Linked DNA regions of Homo sapiens: all the other regions are linked to region 2. The links are contacts of gene promoters, found by promoter capture Hi-C in human tissues and cell types (Jung and others, 2019). All regions are on one chromosome and are shown on one strand. The core of a region is centred on a gene start or on the middle of the fragment in contact, and the rest is flanking DNA. Distances in the headings are between cores, read along the strand shown. Region 1 overlaps SRXN1 (sulfiredoxin 1). Region 2 holds the start of TCF15 (transcription factor 15). Region 3 has its middle 25 kb from the start of CSNK2A1.

What was found. The method cuts DNA at HindIII sites, captures the fragments that hold promoters and counts their contacts. A contact is called where the count stands out against the background at its distance.
Region 1: a contact is called between a fragment that was not itself captured here and the fragment with the promoter of TCF15 in region 2, in 5 of the 25 tissues and cell types used here (IMR-90 fibroblasts, heart left ventricle, heart right ventricle and 2 more).
Region 3: a contact is called between a fragment that was not itself captured here and the fragment with the promoter of TCF15 in region 2, in 1 of the 25 tissues and cell types used here (spleen).

Annotation. Positions count from the first base shown.
Region 1 is chr20:643,953-646,652 of GRCh38, forward strand. SRXN1 (sulfiredoxin 1) reads right to left here. Exons shown (of 2, transcript NM_080725.3): 2 at 2,663-2,700. Among named protein-coding and RNA genes, the nearest start is that of SRXN1, 7.9 kb to the right of the region's middle. The HindIII fragment of the contact is 4,587 bases long and covers 1-2,700 here.
Region 2 is chr20:608,991-611,690 of GRCh38, forward strand. It overlaps TCF15 (transcription factor 15), which reads right to left and starts at 1,319. Exons shown (of 2, transcript NM_004609.4): 1 at 723-1,319. The coding sequence starts at 1,247. RefSeq lists silencers at 1,237-1,406, 1,417-1,526 and an enhancer at 2,226-2,700. The HindIII fragment of the contact is 16,586 bases long and covers 1-2,700 here.
Region 3 is chr20:567,350-570,049 of GRCh38, forward strand. No RefSeq gene overlaps it. Among named protein-coding and RNA genes, the nearest start is that of CSNK2A1, 25 kb to the left of the region's middle. The HindIII fragment of the contact is 6,383 bases long and covers 1-2,700 here.

The DNA.
Region 1 (2,700 bases), core at 179-2,678, 35 kb after region 2:
GAGTCCTGCCTTAAGAACGTACATTTGGCCAGGCACGGTGGCTCACACCTGTAATCCCAGCACTTTGGGAGGCCAATATGGGAGGACTGCTTGAGGCCGGGAGTTGAAAATCAGCCTGATAAACATTGTGAGACCTCATCTCTACAAAAGAAAAATAAAAAATTAGCTGGGTGTGGTGACACACACCTGTAATCCCAGCTACTCAGGAGGCTAAGTGGGAGGATTGCTTGAACCCAGAAGTTGGAGGCTGCAGTGAGCCACGATGGTGCCACTGCATACTCCAGCCTGGGTGGTAGAGCAAGATCCTGTCTTAAAAAAAAAAACAAAAAAAGCAGACACAGAAGAAAATTTGGGAGAGTGTGACAAATGCCATGAAGAAAATAAAACTGGATAAAGGGACGGAATGATGGGGGAGGGGGCTGTTTTAGACGCTATGGTTGGGAAGGCCCCTGAAGAAGTGACATTTGGGCACAGACCAGAATGAGGGAGACTGGGAGACAGGCACGCACGAATGGGATGGACGGCTGGGGCACAGTGCCAAGGGAGAAAAGCAATCCACAAAACAGCGCAAAAAAAGAAAACATTTTTTACTTAAACGCACATTCATTACTATTAAATTAGATAAGAGTCTGGGAGGCTCTATGCCAAATTCATAAAGGTAACTGTCCCAAGAGGGCAAAGGAATAATCAGGACTAGGTTTTGTGGTGGGCTTCCGCTTGCCTCTAATACTTTAAATTTCTAATATTTAATTATTTAACATTTTAATATTTTAATGTTTAAACGGTAAATATGGCTGAATGCAGTGGCTCATGCCTGTAATATCATACTTTGGGAGGCCAAGGCGGGAGGATCACTTGAGGCCAGGAGTTGGAGACCAACCACCCCAGGCAACAGAGCAAGACCTGGTCTCTATAAAACGTTAAAAACAAAATTAGCTGGGTGTGGTGGTGCCTGTAGTCCTAGCTACTCGGGAGGCTGAGGCAGGAGGATGGCTTGAGCCCAGGAGTTTGAGGTTGCAGTGAGCTATAATCAGAACATTGCGTGCCAGCTTTGGTAACAGAGCAAAACCCCATCACAAACAAACGAACAAACACATTTTAAAAAGTAAATATACTTATATAAAACTTGTGAAATGGCTGGGCATGGTGGCTCACACCTGTAATCCCAGTGCCTCGGGAGGCCGAGGCGGACAGATCACCTGAGGCCAAGAGTTCAAGGTCAGCCTGGCCAACATGGTGAAACCCCATTTCTACTAAAACAACAACAACAAAAAGCCTTGTGAAATGAAAACAAAAAAAAAAAAAAAAAGGAAATTTAAATCTACCACGGTCAAGTGGGTGGGTTCCAGGGCGGTGAAGGCACATACTGCCTTTCACTGGAGCCAAGTTCCTGGGGGCAGAGGTTTTTTTGGGGAGGGACACTGTAGGTCATGGTAGCCCAGCCAGTAGGAGCCCAGAAGCTTCTTGGAGGAGGTACCACCTTTGCTGAGCCTGAGATTCTCTGGCCCAGCACCCCCAGTATAGACAGGAATGGGTAGACATGTGCGCAAGGTTACAGAACAAGAGCTGATAAATAGAACCTGAACTCCAGACTCATCCCGGCTGAACCCGGGTTAACTATCCCGCCTCTTTCAGCCCTGCGCGTGCATCCAGCCCCTTCCCACAGCTGTAGCTCTTGCAGGCCAGAGGGACGGCCCTGCCGCGGGGGCCGGAGAGCAGCGCCACCTGCTGCTGTAAGAGGGAAACGCAACTTCCGGCTACCAGCAGGTTACACCCTTTAAAACCCAGCTCCTCTTCCTTAAATGATCAAGCAGTACCCCTCTACTCCGAATCTGTTCTGCACCTCCTTCGCAGTGCCTGGCAGGGCCCTTAGCGCTGTCTGGTTGGGTCTTCTCTGCAAGAAGGAAAAGTTGTTTCAGGAGGGGGCGACCATCTTCACTCTCATTCCAGCCCAGCGGGCACAGGAGGAGTTTACTCACAGAAGACAGGGGCACCTCACCTTCGCTACAAACCTTAGGGGTACACAATCCATTTGACAGCCTGGAAGAAGTCCCCAGGGAAGGGACAGAACCGCCCAAGGTCACACAGTTAATGAGTAGACAAGCTGGGGGGAATGAGTAGACTCATTCCACTGGGGATGGAAGTGGGGAAGTCACCGTATTTGAAAATAACTGACGCAGTTATTAGCAGCTCTTAGCATGTGGTCCCTGAACAGCAGCATCAGCAACATCTGGGAACTTGTTAGAAAAGCAAATTATCAGGCCCTGCCCCAACTCGCCTCAATCAGAAACTCTGGGGGGCCGGGGGCAGTGGCCATGTCTGTAATCCCAGCACTTTGGGAAGCTGAGGCGGGAGAATCGCTTGTGCCCAGGAGTTTAGGACCAGCCCAGAGAACACAGCAAAACCCTGTCTCTACAAAAAAATGAGAAGGGCGCACCTGTAGTCCCAGCTACTCAGGAGGTTGACGTGGGAGGATCACTTAAGCCCCGGGAGGTCAAGGCTGCAGTGAGTCATGATCGTGCCACTGCACTCCAGCCTGGGTGACAGGGCATGACCCTGTCTCAAAAAAAAAAGAAAGTGGGGGTGGGGCCCAGCAATCTGGTATTTAGCAAACAAGCTTGAGACCCTGAACCATTGGTCTAAAGGAATTGCACACCCCCCCTTTTTTTTTTTAAATTAAATAAACTTTTATTTTGGAAT
Region 2 (2,700 bases), core at 69-2,568:
ACACCAGCTCCCTCCAGCTGACCCAAGAGTGCCCTCTCCCAACACCACGTCCTTTTGGGGGCTGGGGACTCTCAGAGGGCCCCTTCTTCACTCCTACTGCTCATCCGCTGGGTACCTCAGGCTCTCGGTTGGCGGTTTGTGGCCTCCTTTCTTCTCAGTCTCCTGCTCTTGGGTTAGATCTTAGGACAGGGGACAATTATTTCAAGGTGGGGGCAACACACACCGGGCAAGCCCAGGGCCAGCGCCCCGGCTTCCCAGCTGAGTAAATGTGGGCAGGTGATCCCATCTCTGATGCTCAGATCCTCATCAGGATAAAATGGGCAGAAAAACTACCTGCCTGAAGGGATTCTTGTGAAGGCAAAAAAGTGGATGTGGAGCGCATCGGCACAGAGGAAGACTCCATAAAAGATGGGTCTTTGTTACTCAGTCCTCATGCCGTCTTCCCAGCAGGAAGGAAGTTCCAGCACACCTTTCGTTGGAGGGGATATCCCACACTGAGCAGTTAAATCAGACCCGAACTCTGGGTTTTCCCGCATCCTTCTGTTTGGGGGCCTGGGCATTAAGTCAGTGGTTCTGGGCTTGGGGTGCCGCACCCAGCACGAATTCCACGTCGCTTCCCCCTGGCCTCGTTGGGGACCCCTGCACCTCTCCGGTTCCCGCAGAGGCGCTGCCCCCCGCCTACCCCGACCTGGCGGCCGCAGCGAGGGACGCAGCACACTCACCCCCTTGCGCTGGTTGCTGAGGCAGAAGGTGCAGATGGAGCGCGGCTGGCGGCCGCCGTCGGCGGCGGCGGGGACGGCGCCCTTGGCACTGCCCGCGGCACGGAAGCACGGCTGCCCGTCGTCGGCCGAGTCGCCCAGCAGCAGCACGTTGGCCAGGTGCGCGATGTAGCTGGACGCCAGGCGCACGGTCTCGATCTTGGACAGCTTGCGGTCCACCGGCTCGGTGGGGATGAGCGTGCGCAGCGCCGTGAAGGCCGTGTTCACGCTCTGAGTGCGGTCCCGCTCCCGCGCGTTGGCCGCCTGCCGCTGTCGCACCACCACCACGGGGCCCGCGCCGCCGCCGCCGCCCGCCCGCCGCCCGCCCCCGGGGCCCGGGCCGCGCCGCGCCGCCTCCGGGCCCTCGCAGCAGCCGAACGACTGGTCCGACGCGTCGCTCTCGCTGCGGTTCTCCTCGTCCTCGCTCAGCAGCCGCACGTCCGGGTACAGCACGTGCGCGCCGACGGGCCGCAGCAGCGCGAACGCCATGGGCGCCGGCCGCGTCCCTCCGTGCGCCGCGTCCCAGCGTCGGCCGCGCCCCGCCGTGCGCTCCCGCGCGCTCCCACGGCCCCGCCGGCCCCCGCCTTATAGGCGAGGGAGGGGCCAATGGCAAGGCCGCCCCGGCCGGGGGCGGAGGGCTCCGCCCGGCCAATGGGGAGGCGTCCGCCCGGCCAATGGGGAGGCGTCCGCCGCGCCCTGGCCAATGGCGACGCTCCCACCGCCTCCGTCCCCCAGGTTGAAAGCGGCCCGGGAGCCGGCGGCCCACCCCGAAGGCCCCCGTTCCCGGCTGGCTAGCCCGGCAGATGCTGGAGGTCTGGGAGGGTCGGCCGGGGTGGGCCCAGATCCGAACTTTTTGTCTCCAGCCTGGACCACCTGGGAGACGCGGGCAGATCCCTTTCTCCTCTCTGGGCCTCAGTTTCCTCGTTCGGAACGTTCAGATTGCAGAGAAACAGCTAGTGTCTGCCTGCCCTCCAATTCTAATCCTGTAGTTCTGCAGCTTTCACGTGCGTAAGAACTGGGGAAGGGGCTTTTGCTATTACAGAGTCCCAAATTGCTCCCATTCTGATTGAGCAGTTCTGGAACGGGCCCAGGAACCTACATTTTGTAACAAGCCATTGGTGATAGTGGTGGTGTCCGTGGAGAACACTTGGAGAAAAGCTATAATCTTTCCAAATGAGGATTCGACAGTGTCTTGTCCCTGAAGACAAACTTAAAAAGAAGAAGAAAAAAAAAAGCAAAACAAAACCACAATACACAAACACCAGTAGTTCGTTCGTTTTTTCAACAAATATTCGTTGGGTCCCTACTATGTGTCAGACATGGTTTTAGGTCTGAGGATACAGCCATTAACAAAATAAATTCTTCACCCTCACGGAACTGACGTTTTGGTTAAGGAACTACTGTGTACCAGACTCGGTGCTATATACTCTATTGCGCCCAGCTGAGGCTGCAGGATGGCAGCCCTGAGTTACAGGTCAGAGAGCTCCGGCCTTCAGTCGTACAGGTGGGAGTGGCGGCGCTAGCTCCAGCCTGTCCGGTTTCACTACCTCTTGGAATCCTACCACCACCATCCCATCACACACACACGGGCTATCTTTCCTCAATGCCTGCTTGCCTTCTAGAAACCTTAGATTGTTCAGCCTGACGTGTCCTCTTCAGAGAATTGCTGAGCCAAAGGTGGTTGCCGGGGTCTCGATCTCACTCGTGCCTGCTGCTCAGCTCTCTCCAGGCACTAGCTAAACCAGCATCCACTTGGCCTTGAAAATAAGCCCGAGTGGCAGCCGGTGTAGCAGACAGAGCGCAGGGAGTGGAGTTGAAAGGCTTCTAGGTGCATTTTGGCTCCTCTGGGCGTCTGTTTTCCTGACGATGCCTGCAGCTCTGCCATGCTGTGCTTTCCTGGCTTCCCTGATCCAGGCCAGAATTAGGGGAAGAAGAGGGAGCG
Region 3 (2,700 bases), core at 162-2,661, 42 kb before region 2:
CTCTGAGTCTCAGTTTTCTTTTCCTTAAATTGGAGATGAAAAAGTCTGTCTCACTTGGCAGTCAAGAAGGTCCAACAGGATAACTTCATCCATGGTGAGAGAGTGGAGGAGAGGCCCCCAGGAGGAGGCAGGGATCTCATTCTGCGGGTACTGTACTTGGTTCTGGGAGTGGGATGGCAGACAAGCGTGTCACTGTCTTTGTTCTCAGAGCTTTGGTTGTGGAACGGGAATGGGAAGGTAAGGGAGGGTACCCCTGGCAGGGGCACAGCATAAACCAGGGTGTGGAGATGGGATGGCGAGGCAGGACTGCCCCAGAACTCTGTCCCCAGGGGCTGGCAGTGCTGAGAGGGACAGAGGGAGAAGCGATTGTTTATTCTCAGCCTCAGGAGGACGCAGGAGAATCTCAGGCATCAAATTTAGTGCAGCACACCTGCCTAGGCAAAACTGGACAGCTCCACCTCAACTTTGTAGAGGGGCAGAGAAAGCTGTGGGGAACCACCTTCCTGCTCTTGTCATGAAGTCCTCCTCAACTGGAAGCCCAAGCTTCAGGCCAGGAACTTCCCCAGCAGAGGCAGCCTTCCCCAGGGGGCCAAGACCTTGGCAGAATGTCTGGGGTGCTCATGGCAGCGCCTCTCACCTGGCCCCTGCCAAATCAGTTTCTGCTTGGCCTCTGCAGGATCTGACCTCGTTGAGTCCCCAGGGCCCAGTTCTCTGCCTCTGAGGCTAAAAGTGAGATCGTTTCCTGGTTGAGGAGTGACTAAAAGACTTCTGTGTGTAGAGACTGGGTTTTGCTGTGTTGGCCAGGCTGGTCTCGAACTCCTGACCCCAAGTGATTCACCTTAAGGTGAATGTGTGGCTGTGTACGCGCACGTGCAGAGCAGAACCATCACTCTGCTTGGGCTAGGCAGCTGGACTAATCGTCCATTTCCCCCCGCCCGGAGGCCTCTTCCAGGCCCCCAGCTGCCCTGATGGGCCAGGTCAGCCCCCCCCACAGGAGCCCCCAGCCGCTCCCCATTCGGCTTTCCTTGTATTGTGCGCTGCCTGGTTTCTCGAGGAAATGGGGCGGCTGCTGGGTGCGGGGGCGGCCGCCAGCAGCCCCACCCCCTTCCCCCCATTGTCACTCCTGGCTTCTGCCCCTAGCCCCTGCTGCTGACACTAAAAATAGACCTGTTCACAGGGAGACGGCCCCACCCCTGAGCGGGGCCCCAGGCTCAGTGTCAGGTTGGGTTTGCCAAGACAGAGCTGCCCTGGGGACTGAGGTGGCTCAGCTGAAAGACCGGGGTCGAAACACGTTAGGGCTGTGTGACCTTAGGTCCCCTTTTCTCCTCTCTGAGCCTCAATTTCCTCACCTTTAAAATGGGGTAAGGCTACCTACCTGCTAAGGTTGCTCTTGACAATGAACAGAAGCTGGGTGAGTCACAAGCGCACTTCGTTCTCGTCCTGCCCGTGGTTTGGTGCTGCCTGAGCGGCTTGAGAACCTGGAGGACAGATGGCATAACACACGCCTTCATCTTCAATCTGCCTTGAATGATTGCCAAGGACTTCCAAATCCCCCTAAACAGAGGAGCTGGAAGAGCCCACTTGGGAATCCAAAAGTGTCCGCAGCTCTGCTGTGTGAGCCCGGGTAGGTGCCTCCTCTCTGGCATCCATGAGCTCACACGTGAAGTATGCAGCCAGGCTGGGACTCGAACCTGTGTCTGCAGCCTCTGAAGACTGTTTTTTCCGCTTTAAGGGGCTGCCTCCATGCTGATGACTCCAAGGACTTCCTGGCTGGGATAACCCTGCCTTTTCGTCTACAAACACATGATTCATGGTGAAGGAAGATGCTGGGCGGTGGGCATGGAAGCCTGAGCTGGGGGCTGGGTAGTTCCCCTTGAGCCCATGCAGATGGGCAGCTGTCCTCAGATGCCACCCGCAGCCATTGGGTTGGGCCCTGCAAAGGAGATACTGGCATGTGTCTGTCTACCAGGCTCTTTTTTGTTGTTGTTCCTTTGTCCTTTTTTTTAAACCATGGAATATTTCAAATATGGGTCTTTCATATACATTCAAAACCTTGAACTCTTAGAATTACTTTTGTCACAGTTGCAATTTTTTTTTAAATTTTTATTTCATTTGTCTATTTATTTTTTGAGACGGAGTCTCGCTCTGTTACCCAGGTTAGAGTGCAGTGACCTGATCTTGGCTCACTGCAACCTTCGCCTCCCAGGTTCAAGCAATTCTCCTGCCTCAGCCTTCCAAGTAGCTGGGATTACAGGCACGCACCACCATGCCCAGCTAATTTTTGTATTTTTAGTAGAGACAGGGTTTTACCATGTTGGCCAGGCTGGTCTTGAACTCCTAACCTCAGGTGATCGGTCCACCTTGGCCTCCCAAAGCGCTGGGATTACAGGTGTGAGCCAGCGTGCCTGGCCTGCAATTTGATATATGTCTATGTAATTACCTATCTCCCATTAATCCTGGGCCCTAGAACAGGGACTGAGACTTTATTATTAATCCATGTATTCCCCCCCAAAACAAATACAGTACTGTTATTCTCCCACACAGACCCTGAGAGCAAGCAGACTTGTCTCTATTGTTTGTGTTTTGGGATTTGTGGGGACACCTTGTGACCCAGTTTTGTTGTAAATCTTGTCCATGGGGTTTTGGTTTTGCTACCTAATTGCTTTGCCAATTTTTATGTGGGGATTTAGAAAGATTTAA